4 separate regions of the Homo sapiens genome follow, and all the other regions are linked to region 3. Evidence: promoter capture Hi-C in 16 types of primary human blood cells and fetal thymus (Javierre and others, 2016). All regions are on one chromosome and are shown on one strand. Each heading gives the region's core, a stretch centred on a gene start or on the middle of the fragment in contact. The rest is flanking DNA. Distances are from core to core; before and after follow the strand shown. Region 1 has its middle 11 kb from the start of NFKBIA. Region 2 has its middle 32 kb from the start of NFKBIA. Region 3 holds the start of CFL2 (cofilin 2). Region 4 has its middle 6.2 kb from the start of NFKBIA.

Region 1 (3,832 bases), core at 525-3,024, 700 kb after region 3:
TTTTTTGACTTGTTGCCCAGGCTGGAGTGCAATGGCGCGATCTCGGCTCACTGCAACCTCCGCCTCCTGGGTTCAAGCAATTCTCCTGCTTCAGCCTCCCAAGTAGCTGGGATTACAGGCATGTGCCACCACGCCTGGCTAATTTTTGTATTTTTAGTAGAGACGGGGTTTTACCATGTTGGTCAGCCTGGTCTCAAGCTCCTGACCTCAGGTGATCCACTCACCTCGGCCTCCCAAAGTGCTGGAATTACAGGCATGAGCCACCGTGCCCAGCCTAAATCTCTTTTCACTGAGGCTTCTAATATGCATTTTCATTATATCATTTCCTGTAACAGAGCCTCTGTTGACCTTCCATGGGCTGCAGGAAACGGTCTGAATTCCTCAGCTGCATTTAAAGTCCTCCAGAGTCAGACTCTACCCTGCCCAGCCACTCCTCATCACCATTTCCCCCGAGCACCAACACTGTGCCAGCTGCTCTGGCCTTCATGCAGGCCTCTCCCTGCCTGTCCTAGGACCACCTTCTTTCAGCTTCCTTGCCAGGACCCACCCTTTCCAAAACTCCTTTTCTGTCTTCCTCTTCTTGGAGCCCTCTGCCCTCTTCTAAATCCTGCTAGCTTTTACAGCTTGCCTTGAATATTGGGCCACATATTGTCTTATACTGCTTAGTTATTGCTTGTGTCCCTAGTTAAACACAGAATAGTGTTGGGTGGGGCAGGGGCTGCTGGGTGGGGAGGAGACATTCATTTCTTCTGTGTCTCTCTTACCCTGGGCTTCCCTTGCCATTGATTCAGGCATGAGTATCCCCTTTGCTTCATACCTGTCATAATTTTTCTTGGACCCTCCTCCTCTGTTAATACCTCACTTTGCATGCAATCGATTTCATTCTTTTCTATCTAGAAATTATCTCAAGAGGCCATCGGGTCCAGCTTCTGCTTTCAGGCAAGTAAAGTGTTACCATTCCCATTTTACAAAGGATGCAGACACTCTGAAATAAAGGCTATTAGGAGGATGGGGGCACATCAGAGCCACCATATCCCATCCTATCCTAGAGGAATTGAATGTGAGTAGAAGTGAACAGATTATAAATAGACCTAGATAGTGTCCTCCTTCTCTTCTTTTCTTTTCTGTTGCCTGAGAGTAACCTCTGGGGTGGAGCCCAGGGTAGAGGAGGAAGGCTCCTTTTCAAACCTTCAGTTAAGGAGTTAAGGAGATAGGTGATGTCCTGGAGGCTTGCTTAGTCCAGTTCCCCAGGGCAAGATATCTAACAGGAAATTGGGGCAGAAGCTCTAGTTTAGAGGAATAGATGAGCATTTGCCTGGAGTATTCCCCATGTTAGAAATGTACTGGGGACATAGAATGGTGGGAAGGAAGCAGAATGAGAATGAGTGTTGTTGGTTGAAAGGCCATCTGACAAAGTGATGCATACTTAGACCTCTCATTGAGGACTGCAAGGCTAACGGCCCATGGACATATGACTGGCTGGCCCAGGTAGGGGTGTGGTGGCCAAGGCCCACCTGCTGCCCTTCTGGGGTGCTCTTTAATGGCTTTCAGAAGCAGAGGTATTTGCAACACCAAAATTTCATAAGCTCAAGAGCTTGACCCAGTTTAACAGAGTATACATAAACCAATAATATTTAAAATGAAAAGCCCATTGGTGTACAGAGAATGATGTATGCTTTGCAGTCTGACTAAGGCAACATCTGGAACAACTGATTTCCCAGGAAAGTTTCCCTTGAAGAGGAAACCCTAGGCAGTTTAGATCCGGGTAGACTTCACATCTTGGACTTTGGGCACAGAGAACTTCATTCAAATACTATTACATATGAACATATACTAAATTGTTTTATAAAAGTGGTACAGGAGGCTATTTGACGTATTGAGCCTCAGGGCATCACTGCAGCTTTCTGTTGTTAAAGGCCTTAACCTTCTCACTTTGTCTTTTCACTAGCAAGATTGAGTCTATCGATTTGTCAGGCCAGCTCAGTGACAAGACTGGAAATTAACTTAGAGGTATATGGGAGGGTTGTTGTCTGCAGGGTGTTGAACTGAGGCTAAAAATAGGTGGGGATTCCTGGGGCAGCCTCCTTCGTGGTCACAGGCACCACAAAAGGAAAACTCAGCAGGGAAATTTGCTTTCGAGCCCTGCCCACAAGGGAGGGTAAAAGCCCCCACCTCTGTTGCTCCCCACAGGAAAAGCTCAGGGTGACAGTGAGTTTGGTGCTTTCAAAATGTCAGGGCTCTCACAGACAGGCTGTCACCCCTTCCCGCCCCCAGACTTCTGATCAGAGGCTTTCCCTCTGGGTAAATTCACTTTCTTAGTTCAAGCTCAAATGTCTGTCCCTGACTGCCTGTAGCTATGTTTTGTCGCAGGCCTGATTAAGATAAAGGGAATGTGAAATATTGACACAACAGGGTTAATATGGGGGAGAAAAAAAACTCTAAAGAAGCAAAGCACTGTAGGTAGGGAAAGCAAAACCCATTAATCTGTCAAGCATTTATGAAGCTCTTTTTTTTTTTTTTTTGGTGCCTGGCACTATGCTGTGATATGGAGCATAATAAAAATAAATTTTTATTTATAAAATAAAAATAAATATGGCTCCTGCTCTCAAGGCGCTTCTAGGCTGGTGAGAAGACCAGCAGGTAAATGAGTAATTCTAGTAGGGAGTGATCAGAGATGTGGCCGAGGCCTGAACAAAGTGGCCTGGGAGCATGAGGCGAGGGAAGCCACACCACACTGAGAGGGATGGTCCAGGGCAGCTATTGAAAGACAAGTCAGAGTCAGGAGTGGGAAGAAGGATGTGCAGGCAGAGGGTTAAGCCTGTGGTGGGGCTGGGAGGTGTGAAAGCAGCTTCACAGGGCTTGCTGTGTGGTAGCGGGATATGAGTAGGCAGGAAAGACACAGCACACAGTCATGTGACCGAGCCGAGAAGCTGGGCCTGCACCCTGAAAGCTGTGGTGGATTACTGATCAGGTGTATGCTTTAGAAGACAGTGTGGCAAATAAACTGGAGTAGGTTAGGCATGAGGCTGGTGGCCAGTTAAAGACAGTGACTGGAGGCCAGGTGCAGTGGCTCATGCCTGTAATCCCAGCACTTTGGGAGGCTGAGGCAGGTGGATCACCTGAGGTCAGGAGTTTGAGACTAGCCTGGCCAACATGGTGAAACCCCGTCTCTGCTAAAAATACAAAAATTAGCTGAATGCAGTGGCGCATGCCTGTAATCCCAGCCACTCGGGAGGCTGAGGCAGGAGAATCACTTGAACCCGGGAGGTGGAGGTTGCAGTGAGCCGAGATATCACACGACTGCACTCCTGCACTCCAGCCTGGGCGACAGAGCAAGACTCTGTAAAAATAAAAACAACAACAACAACAAAAAAAAAAAAACAAAGACAGTGACTGGAAAGTGAGATGGCTACAGAGAAATCTAAGAACAAGGATTTTGAGGTCTGAGTGACTGATTGGATGTGAAGGAGACAAGGAAGAATCTAGGAGCTCTGTTTCTGACTTTGGTTATGTAGTGGAAAAACAGGAGGAAGAGCAGGTTGAGGGGAAGATGATGGGCTCCATCCTGGACACACTAATTTCAAGATCCTGGTAGATACAAACAGCCAATTTAATGTGGAGAGTTCTAAGAGCATGCAGTATATTGGAAGTCATTGACTTATTTGAGAAACGGACAAAGCCACCCAGGAATTGTGTGTAGAAGTCCAAACACCAAGACTGGGAACACCCAAAGAGGTGAGCTTGGCTGAGAAGCCAGCCAAGGAAACTGAGGAAAAGCATCCAGAGAGATGTGAGGAAAAGCAGAAGACAGGGCTGCCCAAAACCTGAAGAC
Region 2 (4,020 bases), core at 1,246-3,745, 720 kb after region 3:
TTTCTTATGTAAGCACCTAAGGTTACCATTCTATTTAGTGCTCTTCAGGATGAAAAATATTTTGTCTTCCCACCTAGTTTCAGTGAATGAGGCCTGCAAATTTAACTGACTAAAGACAGATTAACAGGAAAAAAATGTATGATTTTTATTGATATTAATACTTTTAAATGCATGGAAGCTTCACAGAGATGATGTGAAAACTCAAAGACGTGCTCAGAACTTGAATTTTTTTTTTTGAGATAGTGTTTCACTCTGTCGCTCAGGCTGGAGCGCAGTGGCATAATCTCTGACTGCCAGGTTCAAGTGATTCTCCTGTCTCCATCTCCTGAGTAGATGGGACTACAGGCATGTGCCACCATGCCCCACTAATTTTTGAAATCCACCCGCCTCAGCCTCCCAAAGTGCTGGGATTACAGGTGTGAGCCACTGCACCTGGCCAGAACCTGGAGTTTGTATACCCTTCTTAAAAAAAGAAGATGGGTTTGGGCTTCAAGGGAAAATATTGTGGGAATTGACTAGGAAATATATGAAGGAAACTAATGGGAGATAAGGGTTATTTTAGTAGGGCTTGTTTATGAGGAGTCATCTTGGTGTGACATCTCTGGTAATGAGTCATTCTCAGTTTCCTGGCATAGAGGAGTACCTTCCTCAAAGGAAAATTTATGTCCTGTTTTTAGGCAGATAAAGGGAGGGCAGAGACCTTTTCCTCCATCAGTTGCCTTCAGCTCAAAATAATCCTTATGCCAAAGTGGCATATTTTGGGATGGCATATCCTGATCTCTTTCAGTAGCATCTCCCCATTTTTAGAAAGAAAGAAATGGAAGTATAGTAAGATTAGAGGATTTGGCTCTATTCACATGGCAAATTAGTGGCTTAGCTGGAACCAGAATCCCAATCTTCTGATCATGAGTCTTATAATTACTTTTATTATCTGAAGGTCAGGACCCAGCAGATGCTTTGGTTGGCAACAGAAGCATCAGGGTACACAGACTTTAGTAACCAATTCCTCCTAGACAAATGAGTGTTTACATTTTCAGTCTCAATGAAGGTTAAATTTTAGCATCTAACTACGTTGAAGAAGCGTTTGTACATGTTCTCCTTTTTCTTTATTAAGGAAATGTACACACACACAAAACCTTTACAATCCCATGATTCTGAAATAATGCAATTCCCACTGAAATAGTTATTTTGAGTTATCTTTGAAAGGAATTTTTTACTGGCTCAGTTATTTGTTCTCAGATAATTAGACCTCTTTCTCTACTTTTCAAGTGATTTAGTATCTTTTTTTCTGGATATGAAAGTTCTAAGTCCTCTGTTTATTAAAATTTCCAACATTACAGATATATACAACATGGTTATTAACAATATACTGTGTCTATCACACTCAGAGATAATCACTGCCAATTACTTAGTGTATTTCTCTCTAGGTTTTTTTCTATGTACATACTAAAAATATTTTTTTCACACAAAAATGGGATCATGTTATTCATACTGTTTTTTAAAACTTGAAGTAAAATCTATACAACATAAAATTTATCATTTTAGCCATTTTAAACTGTACAATTCAGTGTCTTTTAGTATAGCCACAATGTTATGCAACCAATTACCACTATTTAATTCCAGAATATTTTTGTCACCCCATAAACACCACCATACCCTATTCATACAGCTTGGCATCTTACTTTCTTACTTAATGCAACCTTCTACGTGAAGATATGTCACATTCTATTTCATAGCTCTATAGCATTTCATTATAAGCACCATAGTTATTTAAACAACTTCAATTAATGGACAGTTGCGTTATTCTGGGTTTTTTTTTTTTCTTTTTTTTTTTAGAGATGGGGTTTGTCCATGTCACCCATGTCACCCAGGCTGGTCTTGACTCAAGGAATCCACCTGCCTCGTCCTCCCAAAGTGCTGGGATTACAGGTATGAGCCACTGTGCTTGGCCTATTCCAGGTTTTTAAAATATTATAAACAGGCCAGGCGCAGTGGCTCACACCTGTAATCCCAGCACTTTGGGAGGCTGAGGCGAGCGGATCACCTGAGGTCAGGAGTTCAAGTCCAGCCTGCCAACATGGTGAAACCCTGTCTCTACTAAAAATACAAAATATTAGCCAGGTGTGGTAGTGGGCGTCTGTAATCTCAGTTACTTGGGAGGTTGAGGCAGGAGAATTGCTTGAACTCGGGAGGCGGAGGTTGCAGCGAGCTGAAACCACGCTACTGCACTCCAGCCTGGGTGACAGAGTGAGACTGTCTCAAAAATAATTAAATAAATAAATAAACAATCTATACTAAATGTCGAACATTTGCACGCTTTTGTGAGATAAATTATTAGAAATAAAAATGTTGAGTCAAAGGGCATGAACATTAAAAATGCAATAAAAATTGTTGTGTTTCTCTCCAAAAAAGTTGTACTAATTAACAATCCCAGCGAGGGTATTTCCCCATTCGTGTTTTCCAATCCTCTTGTCAACCCTGAATATTATACATTTAAAAATTTTTTCCAATCTGATAGGCAGAAATAATTGCATTATTGTTTTAGTTTTTGATTAATTATAAGGGAGGTTGAGCATCTCTTAACATTTCTAGCAATCTGTATTGTGTGTGACTTGCCTGTTCATGCTCTTTGCCCATAGTTCTACTGAGTTGTTTTCTTTTTCTTATTGATTTTTAGTTAGTTAATAAGAAATGTTTGTTTTGGAAGACTTTTTTGGTTTTCATTTTAAATCAACTTTATTCTTCCCTGCGCAGAAACAAATTTTCTTTGAGTCATCTGTGTTAAAAACTTCCAGGCCATTTAGTTAATGAACCTTTTCCTGCTGAAGAGGGCTTGGCCTGTGATGGTCAAAAGGATACTAACACCCTATTTCCCTTTCTTTTAGAGCTACCATCTCCTTTTCTCTCACATTAATTGCTTTGTGTTTTCCCTGCTTGATGTGTTTGACCTTAGGTTTTTCAAGTAGTCCTTCCTTCCTTCCTTATTAATACCCAGCTGGTTTTTTTTTTTTTTTTTTCTTTTTTTTTTTTTTTGAGATGGAGTCTCACTCTGTCACCCACTCTGGAGTGCAGTGGCATGATCTCGGCTCACTGCAACCTCCACCTCCTGGGTTCAAGCGATTCTCCAGCCTCAGCCTCCTGAGTAGCTGGGACTACAGGTGTGCACCACCGCGTCTGGCTAATTTTTGTATTTTTAGTAGAGACAGGGTTTCACTGCGTTGGCCAGGCTGATCTCAAACTCCTGACCTCAGGTGATCCACCCGCCTCAGCCTCCCAAAGTGCTGGGATTACAGGCCTGAGCCACTGTGCCTGGCCCTATCCAGCTGTATTATGTCAGAAGAAAATGAATTCCTTTGGAATTTGGAAACGTTGTATAAGGAAACCCCATTGCATTAGTACTCCTTTCAAGATTTGTCCAATTTTTGTCTCAACCAGAGTATTCTCTGATTTAAAGTTTGTTTTTTGGGCTGGGCACGGTGGCTCATGCCTATAATCCCAGCACTTTGGGAGGCCGAGGCGGGCGGATCACGAGGTCAGGAGATCGAGACCATCCTGGCTAATAAGGTGAAACCCTGTCTCTACTAAATATACAAAAAAAAAAAAATTAGCCAGGTATGTGGCGGGCGCCTGTAGTTCCAGCTACTCGGGAGGCTGAGGCAGAAGAATGGCGTGAACCTGGGAGGTGGAGCTTGCAGTGAGCCAAGATCGCGCCACTGCACTCCAGCCTGGGCAACAGAGACAGACTCCGTCTCAAAAAGAAAAAAAAAAAGGTTTGTTTTTTGGCCAGGTACAATGGCTTACGCCTGTAATCCCAGCACTTTGGGAGGCCGAGGTGGGCGGATCACCTGAGGTCAGGAGTTCGAGACCAGCCTAGCTGACATGGCAAAATCCTGTCTCTACCAAAAACACAACAATTAGCCAGGCGTGCTGGTGCGTACCTGTAGTCCCAGCTGCTCTGGAGGCTGAGGCATGCGAATCACTTGAACTCGGGAGGCAGAGGTTGCAGTGAGCCAAGATCAC
Region 3 (3,805 bases), core at 1,231-3,730:
GCCATCATGACTGATATTCAAAATATCTTTAGTGTTGCAGGACTCACATGGTAAACATAAAACTCCTACACTTATTCAGTAGTGTACACTCAATGGAAAACAAAAAGGCATTAATAACAGCTATTTCTTTTAAGAAGATATGCAGGTAACAGGAATGAACACTGAGGTACTAGGATAAGTTGATGACACAGTTAACAAAACTTAATTGGCATTCCTTTTAGGATATTAAACTTATTACAAAAAGTGCTTTTAATGCATAGTGTTATATCCGTGCTGCCATATCACTAAAATAGGCTTGCCAAGGCAGGTGAGGTGTATGAATGCTCAAGCCTCACAGAACTGCAATCAAGTGCCAACTATAAATAATACTGAAAAAAGTTGACCATCTGACCAGTGGATAATACTTTCAAGGCATTCAATTAGCTTATCCTTTGCAGTATTCTAAGCTATTCACATTGACGATCACATACATTGTAGTGCTTGCTGCAAGGGAGGCATATAACCAGTTGTTTTGGCTAAAATATGACAGGAAGGCATTCCTTGGGTTCTATATAAAAGTAACAGTATTCAACAGTCTAATGGCAATCACTGATAGGCTGCTTAAATAAATGATATTTCCTTCATTCATTGTGTTGGAAGGGCCCAGTGGAAAGGGGGAAATACAACAAAAAACCAAAACCTAATACTATTCCAATGGACTGAGCTGGAGAAATGGAAGCTCCTTAAGATCCAGATGGCACTTGACTGTCATTTTATAATGGTTTTCCTTCAAGTGAAACTACTACATTGCCTCCCAATTTCTCTCCAAGTGTCGAACGGTCCTTAATATCATCCAAGCCATTTACTTGCCACTCATGTTTAATACCTAAAAAGAAAAAACATTATCCTATTACTTTATTATAATTAATAAAGAATAATTTCTCTGCCCCAAATATTCAAGTTTGTACCTGTAAATTTCTTTTTAATGGCATCTTTAGAGCTAGCATAAATCATCTTGCTTTTTAAAGGTGCACTTTCAGGAGCCCTACAGAAAAAAAAAAAATTATTGAATCCCATTTATAAGAAAAACAAAGGTAAGACTGACTATGATAATAATAATCCTTGCATTTTAAAAGTACTTTTTTCTTTTGTTTTTACACACCAGAATATAAATACTAGGTCTTCTTTCTTAGACTCTTTTGTTTCGTATGTGGCATCGTACAAAGCATATCGGCAATCATTCAGAGGTAGCAACTTCACAAAAGATGTGTAGGGGTCCTCTACAGTATCACCAATGTCACCCACCAAGATCTGCTTTGCTTCCTCTACAATTATTTGTCTTTTGTCATCGCTTAAACAGAAGAGAACTGCTTTCTTTCTCTTTTTGATCTCCTCTTGTGTAGAAGATTTCCTTACTTTCATATCATTAAAAACTTTGATGACTTCATCATTCACTGTAACTCCAGAAGCCTGAAAATAAACACAGAACAGTAATTCAGAACACGTATTTTGGTTTTAACCAAAATTACTGTTTGCCTAGAGAAGACTCACTTTAGTCTGGACATCAAAAATTGCACCGTACCATGTAAGTCGTCCAATCAGATTTGTCACATTTTAAGAATCAGTAGACGATACAGCGAAGGAGTCTAACTCATCCTGCCCATTCATCCTTCTTAAAGGGGTTTGGACGTGGAAGCGAAAGGGACAAATACAAGTTGTCCCATCCCTGAAATGTTTCCTATTTCACTGGGTGATGTCAGAGCTTCAGGAGTGGCAGCAAAAATACCTTCTGTATTGTGTCAACTCGGCTGGCCTTAAAAAAACACTTTTGGATTTCAGTTAATGCTTCTACTATTTTTTTCTTTAAAGTCATCCTAGCCACTGACGTTTCCTCATAAGGAAAGAGAATCAAGTGTAAACTCCAAACCGCCCACGGCCCACACACAGCTCACATGCAGACACTCCAAAACTAACTGATCGAGTGTAAAAGCTTTTACGGCGAGAAAGCATTTTAAAAAGTGTTTTCCCTCTTCCTTAATCTCCCCGTAAGGGTTTTATTACAGGCCGTCCAGACCCTGACCCACACAGCGTTCGCAGCACGTACCAATTTTAAAGCCTCGCGTGTTAAGTAAAATTAGGAAGCGAAGGGCAAAGGCGGCGCGAGCGGCTGCAGTCCGCAGACCCTCTCGCGCCCCCGCCCGCCCGGCCCCGACCCCCAACCTGCGCCGACGCCCGGGCCCTCCCCGCCCCCCAAAATCCAAAGAGCAGCAGGGCAGGGCCTGACGGCCGGAGGGCAGGCCGGTCGGCTGGAGAGCAGCGGAGCCGCAGAGCAGAAGCGCCCACCTTGGAGGCCAAAATCAGGTTAAAATGGCGGCCTCACTCCCGGGGCCGTGCGGGGGGCTTTTCTCGCCTCGCCGCGGCCTCCCGGCCAGCGCGCTCGTCTTACCATAGTGCCCTCGGCTGTGGCTGCGGCGGCAGCTCGGGCTTCGGCTCTGTGGCACTGGGAGGAGAAGGAGGGGCGGGCGAGCGGGTGGGCAGCGGAGAGTGCGGGGCACGCCGGGAGCTGCAGCCCGAGGGAGGTGGCGGGGCTCGGCGGGCCGCAGGCAGCGGGCGGGGCGGTCACGTGGGCACGCCTGGTCCCCAGCCGGCGCCACCCGCTCCCAGGCCGGCCCTTCTGTCTCGCGGCCCCGGCTCCCCGGCTGTCCGCGTCCTCGGCCTGACCTCAGAGCGCGAGCCCTGCAGGCCGGGGGGGGCGACGCGGTGGTAGCGGAGCCCGGGAGCCTGGCAGAGCCGCCTCCAGCCCCCGAGCATCACCCGTCAAGCCGGTGGGAGAGAGTGCTGGGCTCCCAGAGGGGCGTTTCCACCGCCTCCGTAGGGCCCTGCGCCAGGGGTGGGTGCGTGTGAGGGGAACTCCTGCGAAGGTGTCTTTCCTTATTTACCTGTGGTTTTCCCGAAAGAGGCTGGATTTCGACATTTTGAGTCTTTTTGGAAAACCCCCAGTTGTTTAGAGATAAATGAGAATAAATACTACACGAGATTGCTCCAGTTGATAGTACTTAGCAAAAACAAAATGATACGCAGTGTTGGTAAATCACTTTTCAAAACTCTGGTTGAAATAATAATTATGATTAAAAAATTACGTGGTAGCATTCCTTAGTAATATCCTTTTACATTTTAGACTTCATAGGAAATGGATTGTACTCTCTCTTAGAGATTTCATGAAGCTCCAGCTATGACAGCTGATATCAAATAAGCCGACGCAGCCTCTTCTAGCAAAGCCCATATAACTGCGCCAAGGCAGTTTCTCTTTTTTTAATCTTAACTCCTCCATACCTCAGGGTTCTTCATGTGTAAAACAAACTGTTATTAAATTATCGTTAAGGCCCTTTCCAGCTTTAGATTTCAGTTTCTGAGTATATCAATGTTCAGTAGGAAATGGTGTGTTTTTGGTGGTCTCAGGATTGAGGTTAGGCAGGAAAGTCATGAGATGGTGTTTGCCCTAGATTGCGTGATAAGTTCTTTCAGCCCAAATTTACTGTATTTTAAATGGAACATGCTAGGCATTGAAACAGACCTATTTTTCTGTCTATATCTTGGGTTTGTTTTCTTAATTGGAAGATAGACTTCGTTTAGAGACAAAAATTGAGAAGGGATTTCCCAATGTCTAAGCATGAATCCCAAGCAAGTGGATAATACTTTATATCTAGCTGGTACATTACAATTTATGGAACCTTTCACTTTATCTGTTGAACTTCCAAGAAGTCATGGAGAATGTCTCTCCAGAGCTCTGATCATCTGCTATGTGTAGGTATTAGCAAATTCCTGT
Region 4 (3,725 bases), core at 49-2,548, 680 kb after region 3:
ACTCCCAGCTAATTTTTTGTATTTTTGCAGAGATGGGGTTTCACTGTGTTGTCCAGGCTGGTCTCGAACTCCTGGGCTCAAGCAGTCTGCACACCTCAGACTTCCAAAGTGCTCGGATAACAGGAGTGAGCCAGTGTGCCTGGCCTGGAAGCTGCTTTATCCCCAGGTTAGGAATATATACCTAGAGCCTGGCTCTGCCATTTACTGGCTGTGTGACCCAGGCTGACTTTCTTTCTTTCTTTCTTTTTTGTTTTTTGAGACAGAGTTTCACTCTTGTTGCCCAGGCTGGAGTGCAATGGCACGATCTCCACTCACTGCAACCTCTGCCTTCTGGATTCAAGTGATTCTCCTGCCTCAGTCTCCCAAGTAGCTGGGATTACAGGCACGTACCACCAGGCCTGGCTACTTTTTGTATTTTTAGTAGAGATGGGGTTTCACCATGTTGGCCAGGCTGATCTCAAACTCCTGACCTCTGGTGATCCGCCTGTCTCAGCCTCCCAAAGTGCTGGGATTACAGGTGTGAGCCACCGTGCCTGGCCTTAATGTATTTTTTTTTGTAGAGATGGGCTCTCCCTATATTTCCCAGGCTGGTCTTGACCTCCTGGGCTCAAATGATCCTCCTGCCTCAGCTTCTCAAAGTGCTGGGATTATAGGCATGAGCCCCCGCACCTGGTCACACTTACCTGGATTGCTGGCCGGTTTGTGGGCCTTGGCCCTATTTTCATGTCAGTGTTCAGAGTCCAGTCCTACTTGTCAATGACTCAGATTGGCTGATGCTGGGTCATACTTCCTGCCCCCTGTGAAAAGGGTGCCTGCCACAGTCACTTGGGGCATGGGATAAGATAATATAGTACTGGCAGGTAAATAGCTAACTGGAATATGAGCTCGGGTCCCGTCTCTCCCACCTGCACTCCGCGCTGGTGCCTGGGCTCAGCTCCCGTGCTATGGGCTTTCATCTCATCACGCCTTTCCATGCAGTTGTCTGTCTCCCTCTCCACCTAAGCAAGGAGCTCTTAGGGGCAGAGGCCATGACTTATTCCTCTTATTCCTGCCCTTGGCAGGAGGCCTGGAGAATAGTTCTTTTTGATGCAAATGAAGGAATGGGTTGGAGAGTCGTACTTCTCTAGGAGGGAAACACAGGTGAGGTCCAGTTTCAGTTTCTGTAATGCTCTCTTTCAATGGGGAAACAGCCTAGGATATTCTTGTCCAGGCACCAGAGGTTGGGGAATGTTTCTTGGGCATGTTTCAGACTGGAGTTCCACAACTCAGACTTTTCTTGCCAAATGAAATTTCAGCTACACTTAAGGCAAGTTAATGAAAATCTGGCAGAAAGCTGGGGGTGGGGGAGTGGGTGGGTACGGGGGTGGGAAGTCTTGGGGAAGGAAGACCCATCTGACAGACTCAATTCTGTCACCACTTAATCACTTCCAGTAGCAACTGAACTTTCCATGCAAATCCACCCAAGCTCCCAGCCTTCTGAATTTCCAGGCCCCAGGGGAAGGTCTTCAGATTGCTCAGACTAGTTTGTTCCCTCTTTAAAGAAAAATCCTTACTTTCTGGAAGGACTTGGTACACGTGGCCGCTACAGGAAATGTATCCTGATGGATAAGGCAGGCAGAAGGAATCAAGGAACTGAATTCAAGGAAGTTGCTGATGTGATATATTATTTCCCCCTCATATCACTTCCCCTTTCTCTAGGCACTCTTAGTCCTACCTGTCCCCACACAATCTGTAACTTCTTGGAGGAAATCAAAGTGCATTAAAGAAGACTCTCCGTCTGCTGGCCTGTTTACTTTGAGATCTTTTGCTCTTGTTTGCTTAGGAATTTGAAGATTTTCTACAGATTAGAATGTTTCCCTTCTAAAATTTTCCTTTAGGGAACTCCAGGCTCCAGTCACCCAACCAACAGGCAGGACAGAAAGATAATAAATTTAAAACAAAAAGAAAAGAAAAGCAGGGAGGGCTGGGTGTGGTGGGTCACACCTGTAATCCCAGGACTGTGGGAGGCCAAGGCAGGTGGATCACTTGAGGTCAGGAGTTCGAGACCAGCCTGGCCAACACGGCGAAACCCCATCTCCACTAAAAATATAAAAATTAGCCGGGTGTAGTGGTGTGCACCTGTAGTCCCAGCTACTCGGGAGGCTGAGGCAGGAGAATTGCTTGAACCCAGGAGGCGGAGGTTACAGTGAGCCGAGATCATGCCACTGCACTCCAGCCTGGGCAAGAGAGTGAGACCCTATCACACACACACAAAAAAAAGGTGGGGGGGGGGATGAGAAATGGGGAGAAGAGCTAGAGAGTAAGGAACCGGGGCAGCCTTCAGTGCTTAACTGGGCCCAGCTACCTCGAGATTTATGCAGATGACAGAACCTTTTCCAAGGTTTAGGACCTAGAAAGAAGAAAAGCTGAAGCCTAGAAAGGTGGGAGACTGGGCCCAAGTGGGTGAGAAGGGGCCCACCCTTGCTTGACCATGGAGGGTGACGCCCCTATGCAAGAGCTGGGCTCTAAGGAGGCTGGGGATGAGGGGGTGGCGCACAGCTTTGTCCTGTTTCTACAACCTAGCACAGAACTAGAGACAGCGTATGGGTGAATTGGCACAAATTTAACCCCTTTACAGAGGGAAGAAGAGTCACATTTGACTGAGTAGAAAGTACTAAGGGCATCGTTCCAAAATTGGGGAGCCAAGTTTCCAACCTTTGTTCTTTTGAGAATGAGGGTGGGGATATCACCCCACTCCCATCTTACCTCTCCCACTTAGCTGAGAGCTGAACCTAACTGACCTAATTCCTGTGGTAGGTCATTTAACACCTGTGTTGAGGTGCTTGGGGATGGACAAGGAATTTCAGGGAAGAACCCGGGCACTTTGACAGAGAATAAGACTGGTAGAGGGACCGCCAGTGCTGGGTTCCGGATGGACTAAGGCTACAGAAATGGAGCAGAGCTGGGCGCGGTGACTCACGCCTGAAATTCCAGCACTTTGGGAGGCTGAGGTGGGCAGATCACCTGAGGTCAGGAGTTCAAGACCAGCCTGGGCAACATGGTGAAACCCTGTCTCTACTAAAAATATAAAAATTAGCCAGGCGTGGTGGCAGGCACCTGTAATCCCAGCTACTCGGGAGGCTGAGGCACAGAGAATCGCTAGAACCCGGGAGGTGGAGGTTGCAGTGAGCTGAGATCATGCCACTGTACTCCAGCCTGGGCGACAGAGCAAGACTCCATCTCAAAAAAAAAAAAAAAAAAAAAAAAAGAAAGAGAAAGAATTGGGGCAGAATTGGCTTTAACCAGTCTGTAGTAACACTCCTTATATGTGGAAGACCACTAAATACTGGCTCCTTTTTGGTCCAAGGTGACCATATTCTTTTGACTTTGACATCGTTTGTGGATCAGGAAAGGGATAATGTAATAATTTTTTCTTAGGTATAAGTCAAAGACATGAATTGCATTTATACACTACTCTGCATTTTCTAGAATGCAATAACTTTACTTTTTCCTCAGAAATGTTTTGGCTGGGTGTGGTGGCTCAGACCTGTAATCCCAGTGCTTTGGGAGGCCATAGTGGGTGGATCTCTTGAGCCCAGGAGTTCCAGACCAGCCTGGGCAACATAGAGAAACCCTGTCTCTACAAATAAAATTAGTCAGGCATGGTGGTGCATGCTTGTAGTCCCAGCTACTCAGGAGGCTGAGTTGGGAGGATCGCTTGAGCCCAGGAGTTTGGGGCTGCAGTG

Evidence for each region. The method cuts DNA at HindIII sites, captures the fragments that hold promoters and counts their contacts. A CHiCAGO score of 5 or more calls a contact.
Region 1: a contact is called between a fragment that was not itself captured here and the fragment with the promoter of CFL2 in region 3, in 15 of 17 cell types (total B cells, naive CD8 T cells, naive CD4 T cells and 12 more). The highest score is 13.6, in total B cells.
Region 2: a fragment that was not itself captured here is called in contact with the fragment with the promoter of CFL2 in region 3 in 1 of 17 cell types (neutrophils); the score reaches 7.1 in neutrophils.
Region 4: a contact is called between a fragment that was not itself captured here and the fragment with the promoter of CFL2 in region 3, in 3 of 17 cell types (total CD8 T cells, total B cells and naive CD8 T cells). The highest score is 6.1, in total CD8 T cells.

What each region holds. Positions count from the first base shown.
Region 1 is chr14:35,414,175-35,418,006 of GRCh38, forward strand. No RefSeq gene overlaps it. Among named protein-coding and RNA genes, the nearest start is that of NFKBIA, 11 kb to the left of the region's middle. The HindIII fragment of the contact is 8,767 bases long and covers 1-3,832 here.
Region 2 is chr14:35,434,763-35,438,782 of GRCh38, forward strand. No RefSeq gene overlaps it. Among named protein-coding and RNA genes, the nearest start is that of NFKBIA, 32 kb to the left of the region's middle. The HindIII fragment of the contact is 4,638 bases long and covers 177-4,020 here.
Region 3 is chr14:34,712,113-34,715,917 of GRCh38, forward strand. CFL2 (cofilin 2) reads right to left here and starts at 2,481. Exons shown (of 4, transcript NM_138638.5): 1 at 2,426-2,481; 2 at 1,142-1,449; 3 at 948-1,024; 4 at 1-865. The coding sequence starts at 2,428. The coding sequence ends at 753. RefSeq lists silencers at 2,178-2,237, 2,328-2,917. The HindIII fragment of the contact is 2,283 bases long and covers 1,968-3,805 here.
Region 4 is chr14:35,396,729-35,400,453 of GRCh38, forward strand. No RefSeq gene overlaps it. Among named protein-coding and RNA genes, the nearest start is that of NFKBIA, 6.2 kb to the right of the region's middle. The HindIII fragment of the contact is 6,677 bases long and covers 1-3,725 here.